2 separate regions of the Homo sapiens genome follow, and region 1 is linked to region 2. The links are contacts of gene promoters, found by promoter capture Hi-C in blood cells and fetal thymus (Javierre and others, 2016). All regions are on one chromosome and are shown on one strand. Each heading gives the region's core, a stretch centred on a gene start or on the middle of the fragment in contact. The rest is flanking DNA. Distances are from core to core; before and after follow the strand shown.

The links. Contacts are between HindIII fragments. The CHiCAGO score rates a contact against its expected background, and 5 or more counts as called.
Region 1: a fragment that was not itself captured here is called in contact with the fragment with the promoter of HOXB13 in region 2 in 1 of 17 cell types (total B cells); the score reaches 5.9 in total B cells.

Annotation. Positions count from the first base shown.
Region 1 is chr17:48,309,947-48,312,935 of GRCh38, reverse strand. All of the region lies in intron 4 of SKAP1 (src kinase associated phosphoprotein 1), which reads left to right. Among named protein-coding and RNA genes, the nearest start is that of SKAP1-AS2, 17 kb to the right of the region's middle. The HindIII fragment of the contact is 8,426 bases long and covers 1-2,989 here.
Region 2 is chr17:48,726,969-48,730,018 of GRCh38, reverse strand. It overlaps HOXB13 (homeobox B13), which reads left to right and starts at 1,269. Exons shown (of 2, transcript NM_006361.6): 1 at 1,269-2,026; 2 at 2,976-3,050. The coding sequence starts at 1,426. The HindIII fragment of the contact is 3,706 bases long and covers 1-3,050 here.

The DNA.
Region 1 (2,989 bases), core at 264-2,763, 420 kb after region 2:
TCTTCTGCTTTGTTACTGATCACACAGAAGACACCCAGCTGCATGGAATGCAAATAAACAGCCCACCTCCAAGATATCATATGGCCAAGTGTCTCCTAATGCAAATTCCTGACTTGTTTACAGAATAACAATAAAACGTTATAAGTTTAAGATTGGAGGCAATGAGGAGACAGCTAAGAAAGTTGTTTGGGGGTCTCTCTCTCTCACACTCTCTTTTCCTGAATTCAGTTTCCCCTTAAACTTGACAAAGTGGAACAGAAATTCACCCTTGTCTTGGTCATTCTTCTGAAACAAAGGGTCTATTCTCTCTTTTAATGCATGTAGAACTTCCATTAAGGTTGACCATAAGCTCTTGCATGGGATGAAAAAAGAAATAGCCCTCAAATCTTTTCTTTACCCTGGTATTATTTTTAAAGGACAAACAATAAGAACATAGTTTCACATAGTGTTATAGAAACCCTTGCTGAGGAGACACAGCCTTTAAGACCAAAGGCCTTTAAACATTCTGGATTCTACGTCATCCTAATACATTCTTTTCTATAAAATTGTTCTAGTAAGTGTTTTAAGAAAGAGAAGTATATGCAAGAAAACAAATTACTTAATTACTTAAAACAAATCAAGAAAATTCTTGCAGATATTAAAAGTTTTTTTTCACCCAATCAGATTTTACCTTTGCACTTCATATAGTGACACTATTACTGATTGGAAAACAAGAAGCATAACCGGTAAAAGGAAAACTGGCAATCTGCTTTCTCTACAGTAGTTTGTGTGTTTGGACATGTAACCACACATGCACTGGAGCCCAAACTGGGCTAATGGCTAAAATCGTATGTTAATGTTAAATGTGATTCATGTAACAGAATACAGAAGTACTTCAAATATAAACACAAGTAGCCAAACCCCAGATGCTTGTGTCTTCCTTAGAAAGATTTTTGTAGAAATAGATTCTTGCCATAAAATAGGACAAGAAAGCATTTGATGAAATCCTACCCATATTTTTGCTCATGATTTTCCTTGTATTTATCATGGCTGGTGCTTGGATAGGCTTATTATCCTGGGGTTTCTTCTTGAACAGCTCTATCTTTTTGTGTCAGAATATATGTGATTTCTGTCTGTAAACTCTAAAGTACTTGCCGAATTTTAACAGAAAAGTAATCTCTGACACAGATCGTGATTGATAAACTATTTTGGAATAACCAGGCCCGTGAGTGAAGATCCTAGGAGGCAGGTGCCTCGCTTAACTGAATGGGTTTGGGAGGGAGGAATTAAAGGGCAGGGGCAGTTCACACTTTGGTTAAACTCTGGCAACTAAAATTTCTACCCTGGTAAAATTTAGAAGTTCAAGGAATAGCACTGCCATGATATTAATGACCTTTGGGGGCATATAGAGTTCAGAGTTCATTTTCTATTTACAACATCCCTTGCTGCTCCACCTCTTACCCTTATCCTTCCCTCCTCCCCCGCAAAAAAGCAATTATTTAGGGCATTGTGACACTCAGCCTGGCTAATTTTTATACAAAAAATAGAGTCAGTGGAAAATATAGCAGTTACGTATTGGTAATGGATAGAACTGGGGATGCCCAATGTGGGGAGAGGGTATCTCCTGAGCAGTTCAAAGTTCATTCTTTGTTCACATATAATGAAAAGTCTTCAGTGATCAGGTATTTAAACCCAAATCAGCAGTTCCATATCCGTAACCTGAGCTGAGTGTTCCTCCATCTAATGGCCATGCTTCTGTCGTTTGCAGTGAGTTGGGTGACACTCGATTTGTACTCCGAGACGGGAACAGATGGGCTTTCATTGTGAGACTCCGCCTGTATGCAAATGTGAACGGAGTTTCACCCGATCCCGGGGTCTGACCTGACCGTGCACATGCATTTACTCAACGTGGCTCAGCCTGGGGGGGCGGCGAAGGGGGAATAAAAAATGGCAATCGGATAGTACCAGCGGCAGGTCAAGTTTACCATCCGTCTTTCAGTGGGACTGAGATGGCAACACAGTTATTTAGTTTCAGTGTTGATGTGTGTTGCAATAAACTCCATCATTTCACCTGTTTATGAACCCAGCCTCGTATGAGATCTCTGTGAAATCAAACAAAGCTGGCAATCAACTCTCTTGTTTCCAGCAGAATAGGGGATTATGGACTTTTTTTTTTTAAGCATCTTTAATTGTTCCCCTGCCTTACATACATAAATCAATATTTTTTTCTCTTGCCTTTTTATTTCTTACATTGAAATTATTATTTTCCGATTTGGAGGAAACAAAATACATTTTCCCCAAATGCTTTTTGTTTCAAATTAAGAAATATGATTATTAATGTCAGAATAAACAACCAGCATTTTAGATGTCGATTAACTGTTTTGCATGTATATAGCAATGTACAGTCTCTAATAAATCTTACAATTAAATGTGCAGCCCTTCATTAGAGTGAAAATATGAACAGCTGTAATCATACACATTCTATTGACAGAAATTTAGTTTCATTTGTAATTTTTCACATTGGGAGAGAATGAGAGATGAATTGGAACCACAATTGTTTCTGTAACTGTGGAGTTTTTCTTCACATGTACAGAAGGACAACAAACCAGTGTCTCTGACTTCAGGGTCTAACAGCAGTGATTTGCCTCAATTTTCTTCTCTCATGAAAGTAAATTTCTCTTGGGAAACATATAAGGCTTTGGCTAGAAAACCCGTAGGACAGACACCCCAAACTGTAGCAAATAACAAATTGATGCATTTCTTCAGTACATCTGTTCGTTAAAGGGTTTTGTTAACTGATGTCTGGAACTGGCATAAAAGAAAGAGTTGCTAAGAATATAGTGAAAGTTGGTGCATGCAGCAAAAACTGCTTCTGATAAAAGATATTGCTTTTGGTAATGCAACCATATTGCTCAGAATGGAAAGAGGGTCTTTCGAAGTAGTATTTGTGCAAGTGCAGGCAAAACCAAGACAGGCTTCCCTCAAAAATGGTGCCAAATTGTCATTGCCC
Region 2 (3,050 bases), core at 20-2,519:
GGGACAGTTTCCTGGGCCCCTTGCAGACCATAGGGAGAGGACTGCAGGGCAGGGAGACTGGCATCTCCACACAGGCGTCTGTATTCTTGGGGTCCAGAACTCCCGCAGCTGGTTTCTGGCAGTCAGCCAGGCTTGGCTTCCTCAGACTTCTTTAGATCCCAAAAAAGGGGGAAAGTGCCTCTCTTCTTTCTCTTTTCTGACTGACACTTCAGGATTTTACAAGATTTTGTCCCATCCGCTCTGTCAGCTTCTCTCTTTCCCTCTTTGTGTTGCTGTCCCTGAGTCTCATCTCTCCCTCTCCCCGTCCCTCCCTCAAGTCCTGTGGGTCTCCGTCCCTCCGTATGTCTTTACTTAAAGGGAAATCCAGACCCTTCCACAGGCCACTCTAGAGGCTCCATTTCCCCTTCAGGTCCGGAAGTGGAGTGTCCTGGGTTCCATCCAGATCGCATGTCTTCTACGTCTACGTTCGTGTCTCCCGCCTCTTCCCTCAGCCTCACCCGAATCAGGGCCTCCAGAGCATTCTGGGCAGTAGCGAGTCCCTGGGTAAGGGGCGTCCAGGGCACCTCCCTGGGGCCCGGAGCAGCTCATTCCAGGACATCTGGGACAGGAAGGGTACCGGGAATGAACTGGGGTGCTAGTACCCAGGACCCAAAGCCAGGGGCTGCCAGAAATACCTATTAACCCCCATTTCCCAGCCTCCTCTTACACAGGCGCATTCCCGGGTTCTCCTCTGAGGCCGGGAGCGGCCTCCCAGCCCCACCCCCGACTCCCCTTCCCCCCCAGGAGATGGACACTTTATAGAGAGAGCTTTTTATTCTCTCGTTAAACCTGTCAAAGCGCAGGAGACAGAAAGCTAGGGAGGGAGAGGAGGAGAAGGAGGTGGGGCCCGGCTCCTCGTCCCCTCTTCCTCCGCCCACCACGCCTCCCCTCCCCCCGGACGTGTAAATGAGACTCTGCAAACTGGAAAGCAGCGAAAGGACACCTCCTTCCTTTTCTCTCTTGTTGTTTTTAAGTGGAATGAGAGAGAGAGGAGTGGAGAGGGAAAAGAAGAGAGAGAGGGAGAAGAGAGAGAGGAGAGAAAGAGCGAGAGAGCGAGAGAGAGAGACAGAGACAGAGAGAGAGAGAGAGAGAGAGAGAGAGAGAAAGAGAGAGAGAGAGAGAGAGAATAAGCTGGGGTAAAGTATTTTCGCAGTTTCTGCCTTTAGGATTTTATTAGCTTCTCTCCCCCAGGCCGCAGCCAATCAGCGCGCGTGCCCGGGCCCCTGCGTCTCTTGCGTCAAGACGGCCGTGCTGAGCGAATGCAGGCGACTTGCGAGCTGGGAGCGATTTAAAACGCTTTGGATTCCCCCGGCCTGGGTGGGGAGAGCGAGCTGGGTGCCCCCTAGATTCCCCGCCCCCGCACCTCATGAGCCGACCCTCGGCTCCATGGAGCCCGGCAATTATGCCACCTTGGATGGAGCCAAGGATATCGAAGGCTTGCTGGGAGCGGGAGGGGGGCGGAATCTGGTCGCCCACTCCCCTCTGACCAGCCACCCAGCGGCGCCTACGCTGATGCCTGCTGTCAACTATGCCCCCTTGGATCTGCCAGGCTCGGCGGAGCCGCCAAAGCAATGCCACCCATGCCCTGGGGTGCCCCAGGGGACGTCCCCAGCTCCCGTGCCTTATGGTTACTTTGGAGGCGGGTACTACTCCTGCCGAGTGTCCCGGAGCTCGCTGAAACCCTGTGCCCAGGCAGCCACCCTGGCCGCGTACCCCGCGGAGACTCCCACGGCCGGGGAAGAGTACCCCAGCCGCCCCACTGAGTTTGCCTTCTATCCGGGATATCCGGGAACCTACCAGCCTATGGCCAGTTACCTGGACGTGTCTGTGGTGCAGACTCTGGGTGCTCCTGGAGAACCGCGACATGACTCCCTGTTGCCTGTGGACAGTTACCAGTCTTGGGCTCTCGCTGGTGGCTGGAACAGCCAGATGTGTTGCCAGGGAGAACAGAACCCACCAGGTCCCTTTTGGAAGGCAGCATTTGCAGGTACCTCTATTACCCTGGGTCCCCTTGTCTCTGAGCCTGGGGTTGTGGGTCCCAATGGCATTTCCCTGGGAGGAGGAGGAGGGAGACTTGGAGCTGGTGAGGATGAGCTTGGTGCTCCTCCCTTGGTTATTAGGACTCTGAAGGAGGTCTGAGTAGCTGGAGGGCCTGGATGGAGGTCAGTGTGAGGGGCCTGAGCTGGGTGCTATCTGAAGCCTGAAGGCCACCTCACTTCTCCAGGAGGCCCTGGGACCAGCCTTTCAACATGTCTGAGAGGTTTAGATCTCTTTGCTGTTGAGTGGGGATCAGGGTGTCCCTACCCAGCACAATTCCAAACTAATTCTACACAAAAGCTAAATAACTCTCAATTCGGTGCGTGGGGAGTGGGTGTGGGAGATGGGTAAAAAGGTATTGGATGTACTGTAGAGAATACAACCTCTCACTTTCTATTAGATGAGTTTTCCAATTTCCAAAGAAAAATTTAGGTTTCCTGCAGCCGTGACATATGTGTGTGCACTGGGATGGGTTAATGTGTGTGTGTGTGTGTGTATGCGCATGTATTGGGAGTGGGGGCAGAAACGTGTTTCCAGAATTTGCCTGTAGAATCTAAAAGAGTGGCCAAGAGTCTGGAAATGCATGAAGACTGGACGTATGTGATGGTGGGCAAAGGCCTGACTGTGTGTGGTGTGTGGGTATGTTTGCAGATTCGCGGGTGTGAGAGCAGTGATGGGTGAGGGTGGCCTTCAGGAGCCAAGGCTGAGCGGTGGTGAGAGAACAAGCCGGAAGCCAGGGTGCTGTCCTGGTATGCTTTGGAGGAACAGGATTGCACGTGCGCCTGTAGGGTGACCTGTGTGCACCTGTGAGATGACTTAGCTTGGGGCTTGCAAGGCCTGGGTCTGCATGGGTGGGTATCTGACCATGCCTTTTCCTCCCTCCCTTTCACGCCGCGCAGACTCCAGCGGGCAGCACCCTCCTGACGCCTGCGCCTTTCGTCGCGGCCGCAAGAAACGCATTCCGTACAGCAAGG